Linked DNA regions of Homo sapiens: all the other regions are linked to region 1. The links are contacts of gene promoters, found by promoter capture Hi-C in blood cells and fetal thymus (Javierre and others, 2016). All regions are on one chromosome and are shown on one strand. Each heading gives the region's core, a stretch centred on a gene start or on the middle of the fragment in contact. The rest is flanking DNA. Distances are from core to core; before and after follow the strand shown.

Region 1 (4,440 bases), core at 353-2,852:
CACGTGCAGATTCTCGCCACACCTGGGCACCCACACACATAGCTCTGCCACCTCCAGCTGCTCACACCCTGCACATTGTTCCTGCCTGGCCTTCCCACCAGCAATCCCACCTCCACCCCTCTCTCAGTCTCTCCCCTTGGCACCAAAACCCAAATATCTTTCACCCCTGCACCTACTGTACCCACCCACTGGCTCTCGTTCTGGTCTTAGCCTCCCTCCCAACTGGCTTCTAGATGCATCTGCTGCCCCAAGCCTGCCCACCACCACCTGCCCTTCCTTCCGATGCCCTTTTCATGCCTGAGGCCAGACTCTCAGCTGTTTCCCCTCCAACCCGAGCCAATATGTCAACACTTGGGGCTTCAGGTTGGGGCTTAGGAGGCCCCATGTCGGGAGGGCAGGAAGGATGAGGGCCTGGCCCCAGCCCAGGTTCTGGCTCACAGGCTCCTGCTGCCCTGGGTCTTCGGCCCCTCCCCGTGGCTGCCTCAACCGGCTTTTCAGGAGACACTGCGTCCTGTTCCAGCTCGTGGCAATCAGCCCCCTGCCCTTGCCCAAGGGCTGGGAGGCAGGAGGTCTGGGTTCTGCGACAGGAATGGGATCCTGCCTCCAAAATCTGCGGCACTCCACAAGGGACTCTATGCTGCCCTGGCGACCCAGGCGCCCTTCCCTCCAGCACCCTGTGAGACCCAGACTCGGGCTCGGAGTCTCTTTCCTTGGCCTGTTCGAATCCATCCATTTGTCCAGTCAATAAATATTTACTGAACCCCAGGCAGTGTTCAAGAAGCTAGGAATACAGCAGTGATCAACACGACCAATTTACATTGCTAGTAGGTGAGACAGGCAATAAAAAATAAAGGTAATTTCAGATTTTTTTTTTCTGTGAAAACAAAAGGGTGATACTACAGAGTATAATTAATGCCATGTTATGGTCAGGAGAGGTTTTCTTGCGAAGTTGGCATTTAAGTCAAGTACGGATGAGGAGGAGCCAGCCACGTGAAGATCTGGGTTCTGCATTCCAGGCAGAGAGAGGAGCATGTGCAAAGGCCCTGCAGCAGGAATGAGCTTGGTGTGTTTGTGGAACAGGGAGAAGGCCTGTGTGGCTGGAATGGAATGAGTGAGGGCAGGGGCTGGCCCACAAGAACGAGGTCTGATGACTCCTTCATCCCACCTAGTGTTCTCCCCTCTCCAGACGGTGCCTCCCATCATTCTAGCCCCTCACTGCCTGGGGAGCTGGAGGCTTAGATGCCTGAGAGGAGTGAGGTGTTGAAGAATTGCCTGCATCCCAGGGATGGAGCATGGTGGAAGGTGGGTTTGCGAGAGAGGAGGCCTGGACAGTGGGTGAGGAATGAAAGAGGAGGTGGTTGGAAGGGCAGACACCCATCTCTGGGGTGGAGGGCAAGGAGCAAAGATGCCAGAGTTCTTCTCCATCCATGACTCACCCTCTCTTCCTCCTCCTCTCCATTGCTCAACTCCAAATCTCCCTGGGAAACACCTCCTTGACTGAAGACCAACTCAGTGCCTCACAGGGGTAATTGAGTCATGAGGGGTGGAGAAGAGGGCGAGAGGGAGAGAGGATAAATAGCAGCGTGGCTTCCCTGGCTCCTCTCTGCATCCTTCCCGACCTTCCCAGCAATATGCATCTTGCACGTCTGGTCGGCTCCTGCTCCCTCCTTCTGCTACTGGGGGCCCTGTCTGGATGGGCGGCCAGCGATGACCCCATTGAGAAGGTCATTGAAGGGATCAACCGAGGGCTGAGCAATGCAGAGAGAGAGGTGGGCAAGGCCCTGGATGGCATCAACAGTGGAATCACGCATGCCGGAAGGGAAGTGGAGAAGGTTTTCAACGGACTTAGCAACATGGGGAGCCACACCGGCAAGGAGTTGGACAAAGGCGTCCAGGGGCTCAACCACGGCATGGACAAGGTTGCCCATGAGATCAACCATGGTATTGGACAAGCAGGAAAGGAAGCAGAGAAGCTTGGCCATGGGGTCAACAACGCTGCTGGACAGGTTGGGAAGGAGGCAGACAAACTGATCCATCATGGGGTCCATCACGGGGCCAACCAGGCGGGAAGTGAGGCAGGGAAGTTTGGCCAGGGAGTCGACAATGCTGCAGGGCAGGCTGGAAATGAGGCTGGGAGGTTTGGCCAGGGAGTCCACCATGCTGCAGGGCAGGCCGGAAATGAGGCTGGGAGGTTTGGCCAGGGAGTCCACCATGCTGCAGGGCAGGCCGGAAATGAGGCTGGGAGATTTGGCCAGGGGGCCCACCATGGTCTCAGTGAGGGCTGGAAGGAGACAGAGAAGTTTGGCCAGGGGATCCACCATGCTGCCGGTCAGGTTGGGAAGGAGGCAGAGAAGTTTGGCCAGGGGGCCCACCATGCTGCGGGGCAGGCCGGAAATGAGGCAGGGAGATTTGGCCAGGGGGTCCACCATGGTCTCAGTGAGGGCTGGAAGGAGACAGAGAAGTTTGGCCAGGGGGTCCACCATACTGCTGGTCAGGTTGGGAAGGAGGCAGAGAAGTTTGGCCAGGGGGCCCACCATGCTGCGGGGCAGGCCGGAAATGAGGCAGGGAGATTTGGCCAGGGGGCCCACCATGCTGCGGGGCAGGCCGGAAATGAGGCTGGGAGGTTTGGCCAGGGGGTCCACCATGGTCTCAGTGAGGGCTGGAAGGAGACAGAGAAGTTTGGCCAGGGGGTCCACCATGCTGCCAGTCAGTTTGGGAAGGAAACAGAGAAGCTCGGCCATGGGGTCCACCATGGGGTTAATGAGGCCTGGAAGGAAGCAGAGAAGTTTGGCCAGGGTGTCCACCATGCTGCCTCGCAGGTGGGGAAGGAGGAAGACAGAGTGGTCCAAGGCCTCCATCATGGCGTTAGTCAGGCTGGAAGGGAGGCGGGGCAGTTTGGCCACGACATTCACCACACAGCAGGGCAGGCTGGGAAAGAGGGAGACATAGCAGTTCATGGTGTCCAACCTGGGGTCCACGAGGCCGGGAAGGAGGCAGGGCAGTTTGGCCAGGGAGTTCACCATACCCTTGAACAGGCCGGGAAGGAAGCAGACAAAGCGGTCCAAGGGTTCCACACTGGGGTCCACCAGGCTGGGAAGGAAGCAGAGAAACTTGGCCAAGGGGTCAACCATGCTGCTGACCAGGCTGGAAAGGAAGTGGAGAAGCTTGGCCAAGGTGCCCACCATGCTGCTGGCCAGGCCGGGAAGGAGCTGCAGAATGCTCATAATGGGGTCAACCAAGCCAGCAAGGAGGCCAACCAGCTGCTGAATGTAGGTGAACAGGGATGGGGAGATGGGGGACAGGGGGGTTGGGGGAGGGAAAGGTTAAACCCCTGGGACATTTGGCGGGGCGGGGGGGTCCGCGTAGCCTTTGTTTGGTGAAAGAAGCTTGGGCAGCTATATCACTGGGTTCCTCCCCCTTCCCCATCTCCCTTACAAAGGAGCTGGTGGCAGCTGGTCAGATGGGGTGAGCCACCTTATCTGCAAAGCACGTATCAGACAGGGTGGCGGGCACCCTGTCCCACCTTCAGGGAGCTGCCCTCCTGGTTAAGGGGGCCTCAAGTGGGGCCCATGAAGCCCTTCCTGGGGAATGGGAAACAGTTCCTGAGATCAAGATCTAGTATAGTGCAAAGGGACTGAGTGTTGACAAAACCTGGTTAGGAGAGTGAGCATGAGGAATAGCTTTCGGAGATGAGCCTTGGCCTGTGTAATCTTTGTAACTACCCTCTGATGTGGTCAAGATGAGGCTGCTGACGCCCTGATTCTCAGATAAGGAAACAAAGGCTCAGAGAGGTTAGGGGACGTGCCAAAGTCCTGTGGCTAGTGCCCAGCTTTGGCAGAGGGCAGGCCAGGGTTCTCTTCCCCTGCACTGCCCAGCCAGGAGAGGTTTTCTGGAAGGTTTCTCTTACCCATTTATGTAGGGGGAACAGAGGCCAGGTTCAGTGGCTCATGCCTGTTAACCCCAGCACTTTGGGAGGCCGAGGCAGGTGGATCACTTGAGCTCAGGAGTTCAAGAGCAGCCTGGCCAACATGGTGAAACCCTATCTCTACTAAAAATACAAAAATTAGCCAGGTGTGGTGGCTGGCGCCTCTAATCCCAACTACTCAGAAGGCTGAGGCAGGAGAATCCCTTGAACCCGAGAAGCGGAGTTTGCAGTGAGCTGAGATTGCACCATTGCACTCCAGCCTGGGCAACAGAGTGAGACTCTGTCTCAAAAAAAATAATAATAAAATAAAATATGTAGAGGGAACAGAGACTGGAGGCAGGCAAATAGCACCACTCACAACAGAACAGGCACCAAGAAGGGAGCGTGGGGAGCAGGAGAGGGTGGACTCCTGTGCGCCCTCACTCTCCAGGCTCCATGAGGGGTCCTGGATCTGCAAGATGTGACTGGCTCAGACGTCGAAGTCCAGAGCCACATCTGCCGCCAGACAGAGCCAG
Region 2 (4,442 bases), core at 593-3,092, 260 kb after region 1:
AGAGTAAGGGTGTGTCCGGGGGGCGATCGTCCTCTGTGTTCCTGTCTGAAGCACATCCTGGGGCGTCATCATGACGTAGAACTGGCCTGCAGGGAGAGTGGGGGGTTAGTGGCAAGGCAGGGTGAAGTCAGAACTGGCTGGGGGGGCTTCCCTCCCTGCTGGGCCCGTTGCCTCCCCCACCTGCCAATCTGACTTCTACTCCTCACCTCCAGCCTGCAAGCTCTGGTCTGTGGTCTGTACGGACACAGCCGTAGTATCTCCCACACTGGACGCTGGGAAATAGGCAAATCGTGCCTCCCCGCTGACAGCCTCGGCCGCCGGACTGCCACCATTGCTGAAGGGATTTTGGATCACAGCCTGGGGAGTAGGAGGGCAGAGGCTACCCTTAGCTTTCTCTGTTCCTCCATCCCGTCCCCTCATTGCTGTGCTTGGGGTTTACTGCATTCTCTGCAATTAACAGGAGTGGGGACTCCTTCTGCGTGTAGCATTCTGTCCTGTGTTTCAAACAGCCCTGGAACATGGCGGGAGGTCAGCGATCACTTGCTGAGCAAATCCGTTTCGCACTCTAAGAAACTTTCCTCTTAAGACACATCATTCCCATTTTGCGGGAAAAAAAAATTCCAAGAGCACTGTCCCCAGGTTTCACGGTGCACAACAGGGATCTGGCCCCATGCAGCCTGAGGCCTGAAGGCAGCATCCGCTGGGCGACACCTGCCCCACCCCCGGGGCTCCCCAAGAGCAGAGCCAGTGTCCCCTCTCCACTCCCTCCCCCCCCCACCCAGGGGTGGCAGGGCACCTACCAGCGGGAAGGGCGCTGCAGGACCTGGGGGCACAGAGGCAGCGGCGGGGCCCGGGCGCTGGGCTGCCCCGTCCACACCCACCTGGGTCACAGCCTGCTGCCCCCCCGCGAAGGCAGCGGTGGACACGACGCTGACGGCGCCAGCTGTGTCGCCCTGGCCGTCCAGCTGACCATCAGTCACCTGGACTACGCGGTATGTCACCTGCAGGGGGCGGCAGAGCGGCGAGGCCGGCGCTGGGGCCAGGTCCGAGCCTTCCCGGCGCGCCCGCCCGCCCGCCCGTTCGCCCTCGCGGCCCGCCGCTCACCTGTCCTCCATTTGTCTCTGTGCGGAACTGGTACTGGATGTTGTGGTCGCCGAACGCCGCCTGCTGGACGCTGGTGATGGCCACCGCTGTCTGCTCCTCCGCTCCTGGGCCGTCCCCGCCTGGGGCCGAGGAGGGTCGGGGCACGGTCAGGGCCGCGCCGAGCGCCCCCAGCCCTCCCCGGGCGCGGCCGGCCCGGCAAGCACTCACCTTCCTGCAGCTCGACGCCCTCCTCCGCCTCGGGTCCCTTGTCGTGGCTGCCAGGGGCACAGGAGGGAGCAGGGTCAGCGCGGCCCGCGCCCGCGCCCCCGCCCCCGCGCCCAGCTGCAGGGCCCCAGTCCCACCCGGCCGCGCCTGAGGCCGGGGGCGCCGCCGAGGCCGGGGGCCGGGGGCGGGAGGCGCCAGGTCCCCCCCGCGCCGGCGGCCTCCATTTTGAGCCGGGCCCGCGGCCGCTCGGGATCATGGCGGCCCCGGCCTGCAGGCCGCGGGGCCGGGGCCGGGGCCGGGGCGCGGGGGCACGGCCGGGCCGGGGATCTTACCTGGCGGCGGCAGCAGCGGTGGCCGAGGCAGCGGGATCCAGACCCGGGTCCAGCATGTCCATGGGGGGGGCGGGGGCGGGGGGGGCGCGGGGCCCGGGGGGGAGGGGAGGGGAGGGGAGGGAGGGAGGGGAGGGGGCGGGCGGCCGGGGGGGCCCCGAGCCCGGCGCTCACGCCGCGCGGCAGGAGGGGACGGAGGAGATACGGGAGCCGCTCGCGCTGATCACGGGGACAAACAGTGGGGTCATGTGAGGAGGAGATGCCGCCGCCGCCGCCGCAGCCGCCGCCGCTCCTGCAGCCGCTGCAGCCGCCGCCGCCTCCGCCTCCGCCCGCCCGCCGGCTCCGGGCGGCCCGAGGCTCCGGGACGCCGCGCGGCCGCCCCCAGCCCACCCAGCTGCCCGCCCGCTGCACGCGGCCCTCAGGCCTCCTTCCCTGAGCAGCCGCCGCCGCCGCGACTTTTTTTTTTGAACACGGCCCGCCCTGGCTGGCCGCCGCCAGTGCCCTGGATCGCCGGCTCGCGCGGCCGCCGCCCGGCTTGGCCCAGTCCGGCGGCGGATCGCTGCTGCAGCCGCCGCCGCTTTCTATTTTTCCCCCTTTTTTTTTTCCTCCTTTACTTGAGCTGCGCGCGCGCGGCGGCGGCGGCGGCGGCGGCGCGAGCCCCGGGGCGGACGCGCGCTGGGGGGAGGCGGCCCGGGGCGCGCGCGCTGGTCTGTCTCCGGGGGCGGGCGGGCGCGCGCGAGCCCGGGGCTCCGCGGGGCGCGAGGTCGCCGCGCGCCGCCCTGGTGAAACGCGGGTCTGGATGGAACGTCGGGGTACCCGGTGCAGGGGCTGGGGTCGTCGGGGGCCAGGTGGGCTGCCCGAGTTTGGAGACAGTAAAGTAGGTCGGTGGGGGGCTGGGGGGGATGGGCTGGAAGGGGAGAGGAGCGCGCGCGCGTCCCGGACGGCCAGCCTGCGGTGCGCGAAGGCGGAGGGCCGGGGCGCATGCGCACGCCTGGGCGGGGCCGGGGCGCGCACGCAGGCGGGCGGCGGCTGCGCGGGGCACGTTCTCCGGCCGGCGGCGCGGGCGCGGGCCGGGCCAGGCTGGGTCTCTTCCTCCCGGCCCCGGACTCCGGTGCCCCCGGGACGCGGCGCTTTACAGACGCATACGGGAGCAGCCCCGGTCCCCCGCCCCGCGCGGCCGAACAAATGGTTCTCTCCAGAGCTTGTGATTATACGTTTTATTAGACTCGGGAGGGGTATGGCAGGGCTTCATCAGTGTTCCTTCAAATTAAAAAAAAAAATACAAAAGCTACGTAGAAAACGTCAGATCAGACGACTAAACTTTCCCGACTCAGGGCCAAGTTCTGCAAGGGAGAAAGAAAGAAGGGTATGAGCCGCGGGGACCGGCTGGGGGCCCAGGGACGGTCTGGACGCCAGGGAGGGCGGCCCTCACCTTCTTGAGCCTGCGCTCTCGGGACGCCTGCGAGTCGGTCTCCGAGTACGGGGGCGGCGCGGGCGGGTAGTAGGCCTCTTCCTCCTCCTCCTTGTGGGGTCTCCTCCTCTCCTCCGACCCCTTCTTCCTCACAGCCTCCTCCAGTAGCCGCCCATCATAGGGGAGGTCCCCGGACCTGGAGCCGTTGTCCCGAGGGTCCCGGGTACGGTGGTGGTGGGACCTGGGGTCGGCAGGAGGGCGCTCCCGAGACCTGAAGTCGTCGTAGTGGGGGTCCCGGGAGCGTGGGAAGTCCCTCGAGTCGTCTTGGTCATAGAGGTCGTCCCGGCTGCGGCTCCGCGGGGGCATGTAGGCCCGGCTTCTCCCACCATTACTCGTGGGAGACCTGCTCCCTGACTCGGCGGTGCTCGGCGGGGTGAGGTCGTCCAGGGCGTCCACGGAGCGGGCCCGGGGCCGCCTGGCCCGCCAGCCCCCGCCTGCCTGCTCCCTGGCGGGCTCCTGGTCCCATCCCCTGGGACTCCGGGGGGAGTGGCCACCCCACTCCTCATCCCGGATCGGGGTGAGGGCAGGGCCCCGGGAAGGCCGAGATCGCCAGTCGTCCTCGTGGAGGGAGGTGACTTCACTCATGGCTGCAGGGAAGGGGGGTGTCACTGACTGCTGGAGGAGCCCGGGGTCCAGGGTTTGCACCAAGAGTCCCTGCGGCAGGTATCAGGGAGACATGTTTCACCCCCCCACCTTAAAAGCCCTCAGACCCCAAGGCTCCTGCTTACCCCGCTCCACACGGCCACTGGGGGGGCCAGGTCGAGAAGGGTCGAAGTTGGCCAGCTCCTTCTCCATGTAGTACAGGACCCGCATGGAGTCGTCCTGCTGGCTGGCCTGAATCCTGTAGCCACTGCGGACTTCTAGGGACAGGGGGGTGGTGGTCGGTTTGGGAGGATGGATCCTGGCCCACCCCTCTCCCTTACAGGCACATCCAACTTCGGGACGATGGATTCTCACCAGAGGCCACACTGCTGTCCGTGTCCCGAAGCAGGGGTACATAGGAGCCTTGGCCACCAGCTGGGGGAGAGTGGCTGTCAGTGGCCGCGCACCAGGAGCAGAGCCCCTCCTCGGCTCCCAAGACACTCTTCCTTCCAGCCCCTGCCCCTCAGTGTCCAGATGCCCAGCACACTCCCACCAGCTGTTCCTGCTTCCCCCGGCCTCACCTGAGCTACTCCTGTCAACGTCTCCAGGGTATCCTCCAGGGTACCCGTTGTAGGCAGGGCCCATGGGAATCATAGCTGGTGGGGGTGGGGTCTTGGCGGGAGACAGGTGGGCATAGGTGCTGGGGGCATAAATGCTGGGAACACCTGAGGTGGCTGCTTTGCCGGCGGCAT
Region 3 (4,142 bases), core at 1,591-4,090, 280 kb before region 1:
GTCTCAAAAATGAATAAATAAATAAATACACACATACATACATACATACATACATAAATAAGAAAATAAATAAAAATTTCAAGGCCGGGCGCAGTGTGGCTCACGCCTGTAATCCCAGCAGTTTGGGAAGCCGAGGCGGGTGGATCACGAGGTCAGGAGATTGAGACCATCCTGGCTAACATGGTAAAACCCCGTCTCTACTAAAAATACAAAAAATTAGCCGGGCGTGGTGGTGGGTGCCTGTAGTCCCAGCTACTCGGGAGGCTGAGGCAGGAGAATGGCATGAACTCAGGAGGCGGAGCTTGCAGTGAGCCAAGATTGCGCCACTGCACTCCAGCCTGGGGGACAGAGCAAGACTCCGTCTCAAAAAAAAAAAACTTACAATGTGAGGGCCAGGTGCCGTGGCTCATGCCTGAAATCCCAACACTTTGGGAGGCCCAAGGTGAGAGGACTGCTTGAGTCCAGGGGTTCAAGACCAGCCTAGGCAGCATAGTAAGACTCTGTCTCTACCAAAAAAACAATTAAAAATTACCCTCGGTGTGATCACATGCACCTGTAATCCCAGCTACTTGGGAGGTGGAGGTGGTGGGTGGGGGGATTGCTTGAGCCCAGAAGTTTGAGGCTGCAGTGAGCAGTGATCACCCCACTGCACTCCAGCCTGGAAGACAGAGCAAGACTCTGTCTCAAAAACAAAACAAAAAAAACCTTACAATGTGAACAACTATGAATCATCATCCATGTTAAGACCTAGGACTCCTAGGACCTAGAAGCCACTGCCAGGCACAGTGGCTCACACCTGTAATCCCAGCACTTTGGGAGGCCAAGGCAGGTGGATCATGAGGTCAGGAGTTCAAGACCAGCCTGGCCAAGATGGTGAAACCGTGACTCTACTAAAAACACAAAAGTTAGCCAGGCGCGGTGGCAGACGCCTGTAATCCTAGCTACTCGGGAGGCTGAGGCAGGATAATTGCTTGAACCCGGGGGCAGAGGCTGTAGTGAGCCGAGATCGTGCCACTGCACTCCAGCCTGGGCAACAGAGTAAGACTCTGTCTCAAAAAAAAAAAAAAAAAAAAAAAAAGACCTAGGACTTCACGCCTGTAATCCCAGCATGTTGGGAGGACAAGTAGGGTGGATCACTTGAGGTCAGGAGCTCAAGACCAGCCTGGCCAACATGGTGAAACCCCATATCTACAAAAATACAAAAATTAGCCAGGTGTGGTGGTGGGTGCCTGTAGTCCCAGCTACTCAGGGGGCTAAAGCAGAAGAATCACTTGAACCCGGGAGATGGGGGTTGCAGTGAGCCGAGATCGCACCACTGCACTCCAGCCTGGGTGACAGAGCAAGGATACGTCTAACAAAACAAAACAAAAAAATTAAGACATATGGTTTCCATTTTAAAAAAAGAAAATAGGATATAGAAGTCCCCATATCCCTCTACCCCATTACAATTCCTCCCATCCCCCACAATCAACCACCTCTCTGACTTCTGTGATAATCATGTCCTTACTTTTCTTGTCCTCATAGTTTGACCACCCACGCATGTATTCCCAACATTTTACTGCAGTTTCACTTTCCTTGCTTTTATATTTATTGAAAAGTATAGACCAGCCACAGTGGCTCATGCCTGTAATCCCAGCACTTTGGAAGGCTGAGGCGGGCAGATCACCTGAGGTCGGGAGTTCAAGACCAGTCTGACCAACATGGAGAAACCCTGTCTCTACTAAAAATACAAAATTAGTGGGGCGTGGTGGCACATGCCTGTAATCCCAGCTACTCTGGAAGCTGAGGCAAGAGAATCGCTTGAACCCGGGGGGTGAAGGTTGCAGTGAGCTGAGATTGTGCCATTGCACTCTAGCCTGGGCAACAAGAGTGAAACTGTGTCTCAAAAAAAAAAAAAAAAAAAAAAAAAAAAGAATAATACAGCTTGCCCTGTTTGGTGTCTGGCTTCTTTCACTTGACATTGTGAGATTCAGCCACACAGTTGTGTGTATCAGTATCCATTCTTTTTCATTACTGTATAGTATTCCATTGCATAACTACACCACCATATATGTATCCATTCTCCTTTTGATGGACATTTGGGTAGTTCAGACACTGCTCCTCTGAACATTCTTTCCTGTACATGTTTCCTGCTGTCCATGTTTAAGGTCTCTAGGATATGTACTTAGCATGGAACAGCTGGGTTATATAGGTTATTTGTCTTTTCTTTTTTCTTTTTTTGGCGACAGAGTCTCACTTTGTCACCCAGGGTGGAGTGCAGTGGCACAATCACAGCTCACTGCACCCTTGACCTCCCAGGCTCAAGAGATCCACCTTCCTCGGCCTCCTGAGTAGCTAGGACCACAGGTGTGTGCCACCACACACAGTTAATTTTTGTATTTTTTGTAGAGATGGGGTCTCACTATGTCGCCCAGGGTAGTCTCAAACTCCTCGGTCTTGGCCTCCCAAAGTGTTGGGATTACAAACGTGAGAACCGTATTTTCAAATGTATTCAATAACACTACAGCGTTTCCAATTTTAAGAGGAAGCAATTGCCACAAAAGTGATTAAGTAGCCTGTCCTGGATCACAAAGCCCGGTGTCCTGAGCCCAGGGATCCTTGCTCCGGAGCCCCTGCTTTCCCCAGCACATGGTGGTTACCTAATAAGTGCAGGCTGTTGTGCTGAGCATTCTTGGGGGCTGTTACTGGGGTTCACCTCCCGTTTCCGTTACTCTGAACTCTGTCCCCATTTGTTAATAATTAATTGCCCCCAAGGAGCCTGTGATCCTGAGGCTTTGCCCAGTTAATCAGTCACTGCCCCTGGTCTGGGCAAGGGGCAGTTGGTGAACTTGCTGCCTCCAGAGAACCTTCCCTGGTGTGGAGGCAGCCAGGGACCCAGGATGCTCCGGACCTGTTACGTGCTCTGTTCCCAAGCTGGTCCCCCCTCCAGGGGCTGGCAGTCCCTGAGCTTTGATGGCGGGGCCTTCCACCTTAAGGGCACAGGAGAGCTGACACGGGCCTTGCTGGTTCTCCGGCTGTGTGCCTGGCCCCCACTCGTCACTCACGGGCTGTTGGTGAGCAGTGATCCTGAGGACCAGCCTGGAGGCTCCTCATAGCCTGGCGCTGAGCCCTCGCTCCCTGTCACCCAGCTCCAGGCCTGGTCTCGGCGACTCCTGGGCTCCCGGCTCTCAGGCGCATTTCTCCGAGCATCCGTCTATGGGCAGTTTGTGGCTGGTGAGACAGCAGAGGAGGTGAAGGGCTGCGTGCAGCAGCTGCGGACCCTCAGCCTCCGACCACTGCTGGCAGTGCCCACTGAGGAGGAGCCGGACTCTGCTGCCAAGAGTGGGTGAGTAGGGAGCCAGGGCCCAGGGAGGCTGGGAGGACGCAGGAAGGGGCTTTGCTGTTCGGGCCCTGACACCTGCTGGCTGGGCAGTGAGGCGTGGTATGAGGGGAACCTCGGTGCTATGCTGCGGTGTGTGGACCTGTCACGGGGCCTCCTGGAGCCCCCCAGCCTGGCTGAGGCCAGCCTCATGCAGCTGAAGGTGACGGCGCTGACCAGTACTCGGCTCTGTGTAAGGAGTGCAAAGACGGGGGTGCGGGGAGGGCGCGGCTGCCCATCGGGCTCCCCTCACCACCCCGCCTACCACCCCATTTCAGAAGGAGCTAGCCTCGTGGGTCAGAAGGCCAGGAGCCTCCTTGGAGCTGAGCCCCGAGAGGCTGGCTGAAGCTATGGACTCTGGGCAGGTAAGGATCTCAAGCGGGACTGTCGGGGACAGAGTGCCTTGGACTTAGATGCGGCCACACCGCACGCCAGATGTTCAAAATGCTACGGCCACCTCCAGGCTTGGAACAGCCAGCAGAAGTGCAGCTGTAGCTCCCAGGCATGGTTGAAATGGATGGAATCAGGGTCATCTGGGTTCTCAGGGAGGAGCCTGGAGGCTGGAGGCTCTCAGAGGAGGGATTGGGATAGAAGCTGTTTATCAATTAGAAGGAGGTACATCAGTGTGTTCTCAGTCAACACAGCTGCATGGGTGTGAGCTGGCTGGGTGTAAGTTCTGATTAGGCCAATGGGGTCTTAGTTTGTTCATTCAATCATTAATTCCTTTTTATCTCCACATTCTCTTTCAACCCTACTCCATCTTTTTTTCTTTCTTTCTCTCTCT

What was found. Contacts are between HindIII fragments. The CHiCAGO score rates a contact against its expected background, and 5 or more counts as called.
Region 2: the fragment with the promoter of USF2 here is called in contact with the fragment with the promoter of SBSN in region 1 in 1 of 17 cell types (M1 macrophages); the score reaches 5.2 in M1 macrophages.
Region 3: the fragment with the promoter of PRODH2 here is called in contact with the fragment with the promoter of SBSN in region 1 in 6 of 17 cell types (M1 macrophages, M2 macrophages, erythroblasts and 3 more); the score reaches 9.3 in M1 macrophages.

Annotation. Positions count from the first base shown.
Region 1 is chr19:35,525,473-35,529,912 of GRCh38, reverse strand. SBSN (suprabasin) reads left to right here and starts at 1,602. Exons shown (of 4, transcript NM_001166034.2): 1 at 1,602-3,269. The coding sequence starts at 1,632. RefSeq lists enhancers at 451-951, 2,397-2,898, 4,020-4,440. The HindIII fragment of the contact is 2,098 bases long and covers 1-1,975 here.
Region 2 is chr19:35,266,362-35,270,803 of GRCh38, reverse strand. It overlaps USF2 (upstream transcription factor 2, c-fos interacting), which reads right to left and starts at 1,842. Exons shown (of 10, transcript NM_003367.4): 1 at 1,641-1,842; 2 at 1,312-1,358; 3 at 1,105-1,223; 4 at 801-1,001; 5 at 207-357; 6 at 1-86. The coding sequence starts at 1,702. It overlaps LSR (lipolysis stimulated lipoprotein receptor), which reads right to left. Exons shown (of 10, transcript NM_205834.4): 6 at 4,272-4,442; 7 at 4,066-4,125; 8 at 3,837-3,968; 9 at 3,070-3,695; 10 at 2,840-2,980. The coding sequence ends at 2,945. RefSeq lists an enhancer at 1-486 and silencers at 774-1,093, 1,234-1,423, 2,582-2,731, 2,832-2,901, 2,982-3,061. The HindIII fragment of the contact is 13,161 bases long and covers 1-4,442 here.
Region 3 is chr19:35,811,543-35,815,684 of GRCh38, reverse strand. PRODH2 (proline dehydrogenase 2) reads left to right here and starts at 2,840. Exons shown (of 10, transcript NM_021232.2): 1 at 2,840-3,053; 2 at 3,129-3,325; 3 at 3,413-3,551; 4 at 3,637-3,723. The coding sequence starts at 2,880. The HindIII fragment of the contact is 7,636 bases long and covers 1-4,142 here.